Regions from separate parts of the Homo sapiens genome. Here region 2 is linked to region 1. Evidence: promoter capture Hi-C in 16 types of primary human blood cells and fetal thymus (Javierre and others, 2016). All regions are on one chromosome and are shown on one strand. The core of a region is centred on a gene start or on the middle of the fragment in contact, and the rest is flanking DNA. Distances in the headings are between cores, read along the strand shown.

Region 1 (6,809 bases), core at 1,574-4,073:
GCACTTTGGGAGGCCAAGGCGGGCAGATCACCTGAGGTCGGGAGTTTGAGACCAGCCTGACCAACAGGGAGAAACCCCGTCTCTACTAAAAATTCAAAATTAGCCAGGCATGGTGGCACATGCCTGTAATCTCAGCTACTCGGGAAGCTGAGGCAGGAGAATCACTTGAACCTGGGAGGTGGGGGTTGCGGTATGCCAAGATCACACCATTGCACTCCAGCCTGGGCAAAACAACAGCGAAACTCTGTCTAAGAAAGAGAGAGAGAGAGGAAGGAAGGGAGGAAGGGAGGAAGGGAGGGAGGGGGAGAGAGAGAGAGACAGAGAGAGAGGGGGGGAGAGAGAGAGAGAGAGAGAGAGAGAGAGAGAGAGAGAAACGAGAGAGAGAGAGAAAGAAAGAGAAAAAAGGGCCGGGTGTGGTGGCTCACGCCTATAATCCCAGCACTTTGGGAGGCCAAGGCAGGTGGATCACCCGAGGTCAGAAGTTCAAGACCAGCCTGGCCAACATGGTGAAACCCCATCTCTACTAAAAACACAAGAAATTAGCCGAGCGTGGTGGCGGCTGCCTGTAATCCCAGCTACTCGGGAAGTTGAGGTAGGAGAATCACTTGAACCTGGGATGCGGAGGTTGCAGTGAGCCAAGATCGCGCCATTGCGCTCCAGCCTGGGTGACAAGAGTGAAACTCTATCTCAAAAAAAAAAAAAGAGAGTAAAAGAAAGAGGGAGAAAGGAAGGAAAAAAGGAAGGAAGGAAGGAAGGAAAGAGAAAAAGAGAGAGAAAAGAAAGAAAAAAAAGAAAGTGGGCCGGGCGCGGTGGCACACGCCTGTAATCTCAGCACTTTGGGAGGCTGAGGTGGGTGGATCACAAGGTCAGGAGTTCAAGACCAGCCTGGCCAGGATAGTGAAACCCATCTCTACTAAAAATACAAAAATTAGCCAGGTGCAGTGGCGGGCGCCTGTAATCCCAGCTACTTGGGAGGCTGAGGCAAGAGAATCGCTTGAACCCGGGAGGCAGAGGTTGCAGTGAGCCGAGATGGCACCACTGCACTCCAGCCTGGGCAACAGAGCGAGACTCCTTCAAAAAAAAAAAAAAGAAGAAGAAAGAGAGAAAGGAAGGAGAGGAAGGAGAAGAGAACCGAACCTAGCCAGGGAGATGCCCCAAGTTTGAGTTTGAACCTAACTCCAAATTGCTGTGTGACTTTGGATGAGTTTCCACCCTGCTCTGGGCCTCCATTCCCCACCTGTAAGAAGGAGCTGATGCTACCCGCTAAATGATGTGCTTGGCTAAAATCAAGCACCGTGACCCATTAGTGCATCGTAGAGCTGAGCAGAGCTCTGGCTGGGCTCTGGCGGGTCTAGCACCTTCGTGGGGCCTCAGTTGGCCCGCCTGGAGCTCTGTGGTCCCGGGGCAACTGCAGTGGACTCCTCACCTGGTCCTTGACGTGACCCCAGCCCTCGCCCAGCTCCACGTGTCTCAGGATGCCGTCCTGCCGGTCAAACAGGAGATCCAGGAGCTCAAAGCTGTCGATGGGGTCCATGGAGCAGGCAGCAGAAGCCATCTGGGGCGCGAGGAACAGATGTGAGGGTCACATACAGCCCCTGTCCTCCCCACCTCCCATGTGCACATAACCCTGGCTCTTTCCGGCTAGAGTTCAGTTGCCGCTCTGCCTCCGGGTTGGGCCAGCTGCTGCCCCTCGCTGAGACTCCCTTTCCAAATCTGGACTTTGAGGCTGATAGAGAGAATTCCACAGTGTGAGAGCCAATTTCTCTTAAAGTGCTGGAGAGGCTGGATGTGGTGGCTCATGCCTGTAATCTCAGCACTTTGGGAGGCCGGGGCAGGAGGATCACTTGAGCCCAGGAGTTCAAGACCAGCCTGCGCAACATAGAGACCCCTATCCCTACTGCAAATAATTTAAAAAAATTAGCTGGCTGCGGTGGCACACACTTGTCGTCCCAGCTACTGGGGAGGCTGAGGTAGGAGGATCCCTTGAACCCAGGAGGTTGAGGCTGCAGTGAGCTATGGCCACCCCACTGCACTCCACCCTGGGTCACAGAGCAAGACCTTGTTTCAAAAAACAAAAAAGTATGGCAGGCACGGTGGCTCACATCTGTAATCCCAGCACTCTGGGAAGCCGAGGCGGGCAGCTCACCTGAAGTCAGGAGTTTGAGACCAGCCTAGCCAACATGGTGAAACCCTGTCTCTAGGAAAAGTACAAAAATTAGCCGGGCGTGGTGGTGCACACCTGTAATCCCAACTACTTGGGAGGCTGAGGCAGGAAGATCTCTTGAACCCAGGAGGTGGAAGTTGCAGTGAGCTGAGATCGTGCCATTGCACTCTAGCCTGGGTGACAGAGGGAGACTCCATCTCAAAAAATAAAAATAAAAATAAAATAAAATAAAATAAAAAGTGCTGGAGAGAGGCCCTAGCTAGAGATGCCGCTTGCCTCTCAGGCCTTCACAGCCTCCCCAAGTGCCCGCTCCTAGGAGGCAGGGGGACCTGGAAGAAAGACAAGGGCAGCCCCGGGGCAAAGGCACACAGTTTTGCTCATTGCATCCTTTCTCTGGGCCTCAGTCTTCCCATCTGTACAATAGGGGTGGAGATGGGGTCCTTCCAGCTCTGGCAGCTTGGGTAGGCTTTCCCAGCCTAGACTCCCGCTCTCCCTGGGGACCTAGTAGGGCTCACCTTTCCAGCAGCTAAATCCGTATTCATGGGTCCATCCAGTTCTGTCTGCAGATGCCTCGGGGGGTCTCTGCTCCAAGCTGGAGGCCCACCCACCGCCAGCGTTACCTGGGGCCGGGCAAGCTCACAGCCCTCTGTGGCTCTGTCACCACTCCCAAAAGATGCTGAAGCGGTCACAGGCAGCTCCCAGCCCACCTCCAGGTGCTGATTGGTGGACAGGGTGGAGAGACAGGGTTGAGGGCCAGTGACACTGGGGCAGGCAGGAGCAGGGGAGGGAAGACCGTTATCTGGGTGTTTTGTGGTTTTCCAGCCCTCAGTGAGCAAAGGTCGAAGTCTGGGGTACCTCCACTCTGCCGTGACCTCTGCCCTACTTATGAGGACTTTTTCTTTTTTTCTTTCTTTTTTGAGACGGAGTCTCGCTCTGTGGCCCAAGCTGGAGTGCAGTGGTGCCATCTCATTTCGGCTCACTGCAACCTCTGCCTCTTGGGTTCAAGTGATTCTCCTGCCTCAGCCTCCCGAGTAGCTGGGACTACAGGTCCCCATCACCATGCCCGGCTAACTTTTGTATTTTTAGTAGAGACGAGGTTTCATCATGTTTTCCAGGCTGGTCTCGAACTCCTGACCTCGTGATCGGCCCCTCAGTCTCCCAAAGTGCGGGGATTACAGGCGTGAGCCACCGCACCCGGCCAGTTACAGGACTTTTTCTCTTCAGAATTCCCAGATGGGTTCTGGGATAGCCCAGGGCCCTTACATGGGTCCTGTCCACTCCCTGGACAGAAACAAACCAAGAGGACCAGACCAGATCTTCACTGAAGCCAGTTTTCCTGCCAGCAGCTAGCGGCTCCCATCCTTCACCCCACCTGCCAACCTCCGGCCCCCAGCCCCCTCCGAAACCAGCTTGGACTCCGCCTCTGAGTCCCCATGGGTGATTCTGTGCAATCAATTCTCTCTAGAATCTTCTATCGTTCATTGAGTCAACAAATATTTATGGAGCCAAACTGGTTCCTGCTTAGGGCCTTTGCACCTACTCACCTGCTCGCCCCTCTGCCTGGAACTCTCCTCTTGTACCCTCCCTCTTCCCCTCTGGCTCTAGGTCACTGTATTGACATTTTAGTGAATGTTCGATATTTGTGAATCAGCCCGGGTGGCTGAGAGGTGTCTCTGACCTCCCCTCCACCCCCTACCAAGAGAGAGGAGCCCTGTTTTGTTTTTTTGTTTTTTTTTTTGGTGTTGGTGGAGGACAGGGTCTCACTCTATTGCCCAGGCTGGAGTGCAGTGGCAGGATCATAGCTCACTGCAGCCTCCAACTCCTGGGTTCAAGTGATCCTCCCGTCTCAGCCTCCCAAGTAGCTAGGACTGCAGGCGTGCACCACCACACCTGGCTAATTTTGTTTTTTTTTTTTTATAGAGATGGGGTCTTACTGTGTTGGCCAGTATGGTCTCAAACTCCTGGGCTCAAATGATCCACCTGCTTCAGCCTCCCAAAGTGCTGGATTTACAGGCATGAGCCACTGTGCCCAGGCAAAGTCCCCCTTTAGCAGATGACATATTAGACCAAGCGTGGTGGCTCACATCTGTAATGCCAGCACTTTGGGAGGCCGAGGTGGGTGGATCACCTGAGGTCAAGAGTTTGAGACCAACCTGGCCAACATGGTGAAACCCCATCTGTACTAAAAATATAAAAATTAGATGGGTGTGGTAGCACATGCCTGCAATACCAGTACTCGGGAGGCCGAAGCAGGAGAATCACTTGAACCCAGGAGGCGGAGGTTGCAGTGAGCTGAGATCACACCACTGCACTCCAACCTGGGCGACAGTGAGACTCTGTCTCAAAAAAAAAAAAAATGACATGTTCAGTGCAGTCCTGAAGGATGAGATGGAACTGGCCCTGGGAAGGTCTGGGGAAAGGTGTCCCAGGCAGAGGCACAGTTTGTGCAAAGGCCCTGAGGCAGGTCCGTGCCTAGCGCATTGGAGGAACAGCAATGAGACCCCTGTGGCTGGAGCAGAGTGAGGAGAGGAAGACAGGCAGGAGAGGAAGACAGGGAGGAGGGGAAGGCAGGGAGGAGGGGAAGGCAGGGAGGGGACGGGGCAGGTCGTGCAAAGCCCTGTGTGTTGTGGCAAGGAGTTTGGTTTGTGCTAAACAGCAGGGCACTGTTGGAAGTTTAGCAAATAGGAGACTAAATCAAGCTTTCTGTTTGCTGGACACTGTGCCATGTGCTAGGTTGAGAGGGGTAATTTATGTGCCCTCCTTGCTCTAAAAAAATTCACATCCTGGTTCCCTTCCCCTTCCTTCCTTCCTTTCCTTCCTTCCTTCCTTCCTTCTCTCCCTCCCTCCCTCCCTCCTTCCTTCCTTCTTTCCTCTCTCTTTTTTTCTCTTTTCTCTCTCTATCTTTCTTTCTCTCTTTCTTTCTTTCTTTCTCAAGACAGAGTCTCGCTCTGTCGCCCAGGCTGGAGTGCAGTAGCACAATCTCAGCTCACTGCAACCTCCACTTCCCAGGTTCAGGCGATTCTCCTGCCTCAGCCTCCTGAGTAGCTGGCATTACAGGCTCCCACCACCACACCCAGCTAATTTTTGTATTTTTGGTGGAGATGGGGTTTCACCATGTTGGCCAGGCTGGTCTTGAACTCCTGAATTCAAGTGATTCACCCGCCTTGGCCTCACAAAGTGCTGGGATTACAGGCATGAGCCACCACGCCCGGCCTGGTTTATATTTTTCAATGGATCACTCATATGTATTCATGAAATCAAAATTCAATAAGGGGCTACCATATGCCACACACGATATGGTTCTTTTATCCAACACTAACTCACATTACTGCACTTGCCCTCCACTAGGGCAGACTGGAGTGCAGTGCTGTGATCAAAACTCATTGCAGCAGGCCGGGCACAGTGGCTCATGCCTGGAATCCCAGCACTTTGGGAGGCCGAGGTGGGTGGATCACGAGGTCAGGAGATTGAGACCATCCTGGCTAACACGGTGAAACCCTGTCTCCATTAAAGATACGAAAAAAAAAATTAGCCGGGCGTGGCGGTGGGCGCCTGTAGTCCCAGCTACTCGGGAGGCTGAGGCAGGAGAATGGCGTGAACCTGGGAGGCGGAGCTTGCAGTGAGCCGAGATCGGTGCCACTGTTCTCCAACCTGGGTGACAGAGCGAGACTCCATCTCAAAAAAAAAAAAAAAAACTCACTGCAGCCTCAACCTTCCGGACGGAAACTCAGGACACTCACTGTGCAATGTCTGGGACATCTGTGGTTGTCACGAGTGCGAGATGCTCCTGGCATAGAATGGGTGAAGGCCAGAGATGCCGTTCAGCACCCTACAGTGCCCAGGACGGCCCCACCCCAGAAAGCAATCCTGCCCCACAGCCACGGGATCTGGGGGAGAAAGACTGCATTAATTATTTGGGAAAAAATTGAGTGGGTTCCCTGCTCACACCAGACACCAGAATAAACTCCCAACAGGGCAGACGGTATAAACCAGGGGAACCCCAGATCCTGGGATTCACCTCCTCCCTCCTTCCCCATTCAGGGCATGGATTTCAATGTGTGCAGCCTCCTGGGACCTCAGCAGGGCAGAGCATCACGGGATACAGTCTCTTGGGGGTCCATGGAATCCCCTAACCCAGGGGAGCTCACCCAGGGTGATTTTACACTCCCCCGAGGACACTGGGTGATGTCTGAGGACATCTGTGGTTGTTACAACAAAGGGGGGTGGCCCTGGCGCGGGGTGGGTGGAGGCCAGGGACACTGCTCAGCAACCTCCAGTGCCCAGGATGGCCCCACCCCATAGAAGGATCCGGGTCCCCAAGCTCCACGGGGCCCAAGAAGAGACCCCGATAACGGTACCTGTCCCTGTCTGGGTGCTACTAGAATTATCTCGCCCTTGACCTCTACATTTTTCTGATCTCCTTTTATCTGCTCTGTGTTGGATTTTAGAGGGGTTGTTTGCCTTGGCTTGGCTTTAGTGATCCCAGTCATAATATTTATTCAGCATTTGCCGTGGAGGCTTTTTTCCAGGGCCATCACAGTGGGTGGATCAAGTAGGTGATGTTTGACTTCTGGACTCCTCTCTGCCTCTCCTCACCCCGTTTATCACTCTTGGGAGTTCTAGTGCCCTCGAGAGAGATCACTCC
Region 2 (5,763 bases), core at 3,264-5,763, 170 kb after region 1:
GAGGTTCAGTCCAGCGAGACAGGATGGAGAGGCACAGGGATTCGGGGTACTGCGAGCTGGAAGGTTTTCTTGAGGAGGGGGCTTAACTCCGTGGTTCTCCCTCCCTGGGGGACTTGCCCCCACTCCTACAATATCTGGAGAGGTTTGGCTGTCACACCTGGGAGGGGAGGGTGTTCTAGTGCTTGGGACGCTGGGAAGCTCCTGTGTTGCACTGGATGATGTTCATTCCATGTCAGTTTCTGGCCCCGATATGAGTAGGGGGAGCGCAGAGTACGGTGACCCCAACTGCTTTTTGTCCTGGGTTGGTACATTGGTGAGGGACTCTGGCTAAGGCTCTTCATTTCCCCTGGAGCAGGGGCAGAAGTGAGGAGGGGAGGGTCGGAGTCTCTGGAGGCTTTTGCCGTCCTGCTGGGTCTTTTAGTTGCTACTTTGAGTCAGGTGTGATGAATCTTGGGACCAAGTCGGTGGGGCAGGATGTCTGGTCAGGAGGGCTCTGAGGATCTGGCTATGGGGCTGGTACCAGGAGTTCCCTGTCATGGGGGTGGCATGTCTCGGACAGAGGCAAAGGACAAGGGTGGGTTGGCTCTTGTGGGAGCCTCTCCAGGGATGAGTCATGGAGGGAGGAGCAGCCTGGCTTCTGACAGCATCCCAGACTCCCTGGGCCAGGTGTGTGGCTCCTGTCCCCCTGACGAGTCCCTCCCTCCATCAGTGCCATCTCCCTCTTCTACGAGCTCTCGGAGAATGACTTGAACTTCATCAAGCAGAGCAAGGACGGTGCCGGCTTCCTCATCAACCTCATTGACTCCCCCGGGCATGTCGACTTCTCCTCGGAGGTGACTGCTGCCCTCCGAGTCACCGATGGCGCATTGGTGGTGGTGGACTGCGTGTCAGGTAAGCAGTGGGTCCCCCTGAGGCACGGCCTGGAACCGGGGGCCATCCTTGCTTGAGGATGACAGCGCCGCCCTGTCCCCCGTGTCCCCAGGCGTGTGCGTGCAGACGGAGACAGTGCTGCGGCAGGCCATTGCCGAGCGCATCAAGCCTGTGCTGATGATGAACAAGATGGACCGCGCCCTGCTGGAGCTGCAGCTGGAGCCCGAGGAGCTCTACCAGACTTTCCAGCGCATCGTGGAGAACGTGAACGTCATCATCTCCACCTACGGCGAGGGCGAGAGCGGCCCCATGGGCAACATCATGGTACGGCCCTCCCTAGCTGGGTGGTGGGCTTGCCGCAGCGGGATCTGCAGGAGCCGGTGGGGAGTGGAGTTGAGCTGAGGGGGACTGGAAGTGTGTTTTTGCCAGGAATGTTGGGTGACAGAGAAGGGGGCTGGAATGTTTTCATCCGACTTGACCCAGCCCTTGATCTTTGGGCAGCTGGAAGAGACGAGCTCAGGGAACGCTGCCCTGGGTGGTGGAGGGGCTGGCCCCCCTATTCGTGATGACTGATCATTTCTTCACTTTGACCAGATGTCTACTGAAGAAAGCCTGCGTCTGAGGCCCATGCCCAAGGCGCCCAGCCCGTAGCTTCAGGCTCTGCGCAGGGGCCCTCACGGCTGCTTCTCGTTTCTCACACTTCCAGATCGATCCTGTCCTCGGTACCGTGGGCTTTGGGTCTGGCCTCCACGGGTGGGCCTTCACCCTGAAGCAGTTTGCCGAGATGTATGTGGCCAAGTTCGCCGCCAAGGGGGAGGGCCAGTTGGGGCCTGCCGAGCGGGCCAAGAAAGTAGAGGACATGATGAAGAAGCTGTGGGGTGACAGGTGAGCCCCGCGGGATATGGTGGGGGATTCCTGACACCTGGGGGTAGTGGCAGCGACGTAGGGGCGTGGTGTGCTATTCACAGCGTGGCTCAAGCCCACCAGGTCTTGCCCAAGCATGTCCCCTTGGCGACCACCCTCCCCAAGTCATCCCCTGGAGACCCTAACTTGATTTGGCTTGGCCTCTCCTTGCCAGGTACTTTGACCCAGCCAACGGCAAGTTCAGCAAGTCAGCCACCAGCCCCGAAGGGAAGAAGCTGCCACGCACCTTCTGCCAGCTGATCCTGGACCCCATCTTCAAGGTGAGTGAGGGCTGCGCCAGGCACCCCGCCGATGCGACTATTGGCCCTCGGCCCTGTGGGCTCCGGCCGGTAGCCTGTCGGCTGACTGGGCCCGTCTCCTTGTGGGGCAGATGCGAGATGGGAGGAGGCACAGCTCCTAACTGAGGTGGAGTCAGGGCTCCTCTCTTAAGATCTGGACTGCATAGCCAGAGCCTTGGGACCTCTCCTGCATTGAGGGGGTTGAATAACTTGTGGCTTTGGCGGTTCAGTGCTTGTAAGTCAGAACTTGGGTCCTTGTCTGAGTCAGAGTGGGCTTTTTCCTCTGCTCCACCACGAGGTTTCCTCCAGCTCCCGATCCGCTCAGCTGGCTGGGCCCGTGGTAGGCAGGCCAGGCCTGCTCCTGCTCCCGTGCTGCGTCCCCCTGCGCTGACCTGAGTCTTCCAAGCAGGAAGCAGTGCCAGGCTTCCTCCTGCTGTTCCCAAATGGGCTTTCTTGTTTCTTGGTGGGGAATGTAGGTGTTTGATGCGATCATGAATTTCAAGAAAGAGGAGACAGCAAAACTGATAGAGAAACTGGACATCAAACTGGACAGCGAGGACAAGGACAAAGAAGGCAAACCCCTGCTGAAGGTGCGGCCTGGGCCCAGCCCTCGGGGTGGAGGGAACACAGGCTGCTGTTTCCGGATGCTCTGACAGCCCAGGCCTGGGGGCTGAAGTCCTCAGCTGGGCAGGGACAGCTGCTGCCCCTTTCGCTTTAGACTCTGGGTGCTGCTGGAGACACATCCCAGCAGCCAGCCCCATCCGGGACAGGTGTGGGTGAGGGCCTTGGCAGGAGTGTGCATGGCCTTTGCCGCCTTCCAGAAGGGACTGTGCTTTGGAGAACGTTAGTCCTGACTTTGGCTTCCTTGGCTTCAAGAGAGGAAGCGTGTACGGGGTGGGGCCATCCTGGGCTCCCCAGGTGTCTCATGCACCGCTCTCTGCCCCCGCAGGCTGTGATGCGCCGCTGGCTGCCTGCCGGAGACGCCTTGTTGCAGATGATCACCATCCACCTGCCCTCCCCTGTGACGGCCCAGAAGTACCGCTGCGAGCTCCTGTACGAGGGGCCCCCGGACGACGAGGCTGCCATGGGTACGTGGTCCCGGTGGCCGGGCCCTGAGATGCAGCCGGATGACTTCCTGTTGCCCAAGGTTGTGGGTTGCAGGGTTCCAGAAGGCTGAGCTGCACTGGAATAAAGCTTGCGGGTTTTCTCTGTCCCTCAGGCATTAAAAGCTGTGACCCCAAAGGCCCTCTTATGATGTATATTTCCAAAATGGTGCCAACCTCCGACAAAGGTCGGTTCTACGCCTTTGGACGAGTCTTCTCGGGGCTGGTCTCCACTGGCCTGAAGGTCAGGATCATGGGGCCCAACTATACCCCTGGGAAGAAGGAGGACCTCTACCTGAAGCCAATCCAGAGGTGAGCAGCTGGGTGATGTGCAGGCCCCTTGGCACTGTTGCGGGCCCTGCCCTGCTCCAAGTCTTGGGCTCCTCAGTCGGGAGCTAGAAGTAAGGAGCATAGAAGGAATATAGGGTGATACTTGTGCCAGCCACAACTTTTGTTCTTAGCCCAGTGAGGGCATTTCTGGAGAAGCTCCAAGCCCCAGGGCACAGCACACCCCTGCTCATCTGTGTCCCTGGGCACAGGTGGGTGGCGGCCGTCGACCCATACCCAGGGAGGAGGGCAGTGATTCTGAAGAGGATGTTTCCTGACAGCCCCGACGCAGCAGTCAGGGCCTTGTGGAAGCCACCAGTCTGCCCTGGGACCTGGCAGGAGGGCCACCAACTCCGGGAGGGACCTGCCCTGGCCCTCCAGGGTCCAGCACAACCATCCCTGCGGCCTGCTGCCGCCTTCTGCTTCTTCCAGAACAATCTTGATGATGGGCCGCTACGTGGAGCCCATCGAGGATGTGCCTTGTGGGAACATTGTGGGCCTCGTGGGCGTGGACCAGTTCCTGGTGAAGACGGGCACCATCACCACCTTCGAGCACGCGCACAACATGCGGGTGATGAAGTTCAGCGTCAGCCCTGTTGTCAGAGTGGCCGTGGAGGCCAAGAACCCGGCTGACCTGCCCAAGCTGGTGGAGGGGCTGAAGCGGCTGGCCAAGTCCGACCCCATGGTGCAGGTGGGCACGGAGTGCACCTGCTGGGAGCAGACACCCTGAGGGGGGACGGCTTGTGTCCTGAGTTGTGGCTGTGTGGGTTGCTGTGGTTGGTGGATTGGGGTGACTGGTCATGAAAGGAGGGGTTCTTGGCTGTGGCTGTAAATGGAGACTCCTGCCCAGGCAGCCACCACCCTCTCCTAGGCTGCTCTGCGCGTGTTCACTGTAGCTTGTGGGACTTAACATTTCTTCAGGAGTTTGTGCTGGTCCCAGTTTCCCAGCACCTTCCCTGAAATCTTGTTCTGGCGGGGTCCCTAGCTAAAGGGAAGCTGGGAGCCTGGTCCCGCCTGTTCCGAGCCGCCTACCCCTTTGGTGCTGACCCGCATCCCTTTCAGTGCATCATCGAGGAGTCGGGAGAGCATATCATCGCGGGCGCCGGCGAGCTGCACCTGGAGATCTGCCTGAAGGACCTGGAGGAGGACCACGCCTGCATCCCCATCAAGGTGAGGCGCCAGTGACCAGCCTTCCCCACGCCCCACCCCGGACACCTGCCCTCTGCTTTAAAGCTGAGCTGAGCTAGGCTCTGCAGACGCCTAGACTTGATCTCGGTCTTGGTCTCAGCTTCTTAAGTTCCTCAAGTTTCTTCTTTGCAGTCTTCCACAGGCATGTGGGGCTGTTTTTGTTGTTGTTGTTGTTTTTTTTGAGATAGTCTCGCTGTGTCATCCAGGCTGGAGTGCAGTGGCGTGATCTTGGCTCGCTAGAACCTCCACCTCCCGGGTTCAAGCGATTCTCTTGCCTCACTCAGCTTCCTGAGTAACTGGGACTACAGGCGCGTGCTACCACGCCCGGCTAATTTTTTTTTGTATTTTTAGTAGAGGCGGGGTTTCACTGTGTTAGTAAGTCAAGATGGTCTCGATCTCCTGACCTCGTGATCCCCCTGCCTCGGCCTCCCAAAGTGCTGGGATTACAGGTGTGAGCCACCATGCCTGGCCCAGGGCTATTTTTTTTTTTTTTTTTTTTTTTTTTTTGAGACAAGAGTCTTGCTCTGTTGCTTAGGCTGGAGTGCAATGGCGTGATCTTGGCTCACTGCAAGCTCTGCTTCCCAGGTTCACGCCATTCTCCTGCCTCAGCCTCCTGTAGCTGGGACTTCAGGCGCCTGCCATCATGCCCGGCTAATTTTTTGCATTTTTAGTAGAGACGGGGTTTCACCGTGTTAGCCAGGATGGTCTGGATCTCCTGACCTCGTGATCCACCCGCCTCGGCCTCCCAAAGTGCTGGGATTACAGGCGTGAGCCACCACGCCCGGCCTCCGGGGCAGTTTTTGAGTTACATCCTGCTGTCTTCTGTCCACAAACAACACAAATGCTCTGGAGGGGTTGGGACAGGCCTGCTCCAGACCTCGTTTCTTCCCTGTTAATGCTTAAAATTCCACAAGCCCGTGGTTTCTGCGCCGGAGAGCTCAGTGGAGCCCCTGCTCCTTGTCCTTGTCTGGAGTGAGATGCGCTTGGCACTGCAACACTGACTCCGCTTCGTTCTGATTGACGTGGCTCTACCAGGCTGTATGAGGTCCGCCTTGCTAGGAAAAGCTTTTAAG

Evidence for each region. The method cuts DNA at HindIII sites, captures the fragments that hold promoters and counts their contacts. A CHiCAGO score of 5 or more calls a contact.
Region 2: a fragment that was not itself captured here is called in contact with the fragment with the promoter of CREB3L3 in region 1 in 1 of 17 cell types (naive CD8 T cells); the score reaches 5.2 in naive CD8 T cells.

What each region holds. Positions count from the first base shown.
Region 1 is chr19:4,149,645-4,156,453 of GRCh38, reverse strand. CREB3L3 (cAMP responsive element binding protein 3 like 3) reads right to left here and starts at 2,823. Exons shown (of 10, transcript NM_032607.3): 1 at 2,680-2,823; 2 at 1,427-1,555. The coding sequence starts at 2,706. RefSeq lists a silencer at 6,716-6,809. The HindIII fragment of the contact is 35,033 bases long and covers 1-4,865 here.
Region 2 is chr19:3,978,238-3,984,000 of GRCh38, reverse strand. EEF2 (eukaryotic translation elongation factor 2) reads left to right here. Exons shown (of 15, transcript NM_001961.4): 3 at 710-891; 4 at 983-1,194; 5 at 1,577-1,755; 6 at 1,949-2,054; 7 at 2,549-2,662; 8 at 3,022-3,160; 9 at 3,292-3,487; 10 at 3,935-4,193; 11 at 4,565-4,672. It overlaps SNORD37 (small nucleolar RNA, C/D box 37), which reads left to right and starts at 1,429; the gene lies at 1,429-1,494. RefSeq lists an enhancer at 1,677-2,528. The HindIII fragment of the contact is 2,489 bases long and covers 3,269-5,757 here.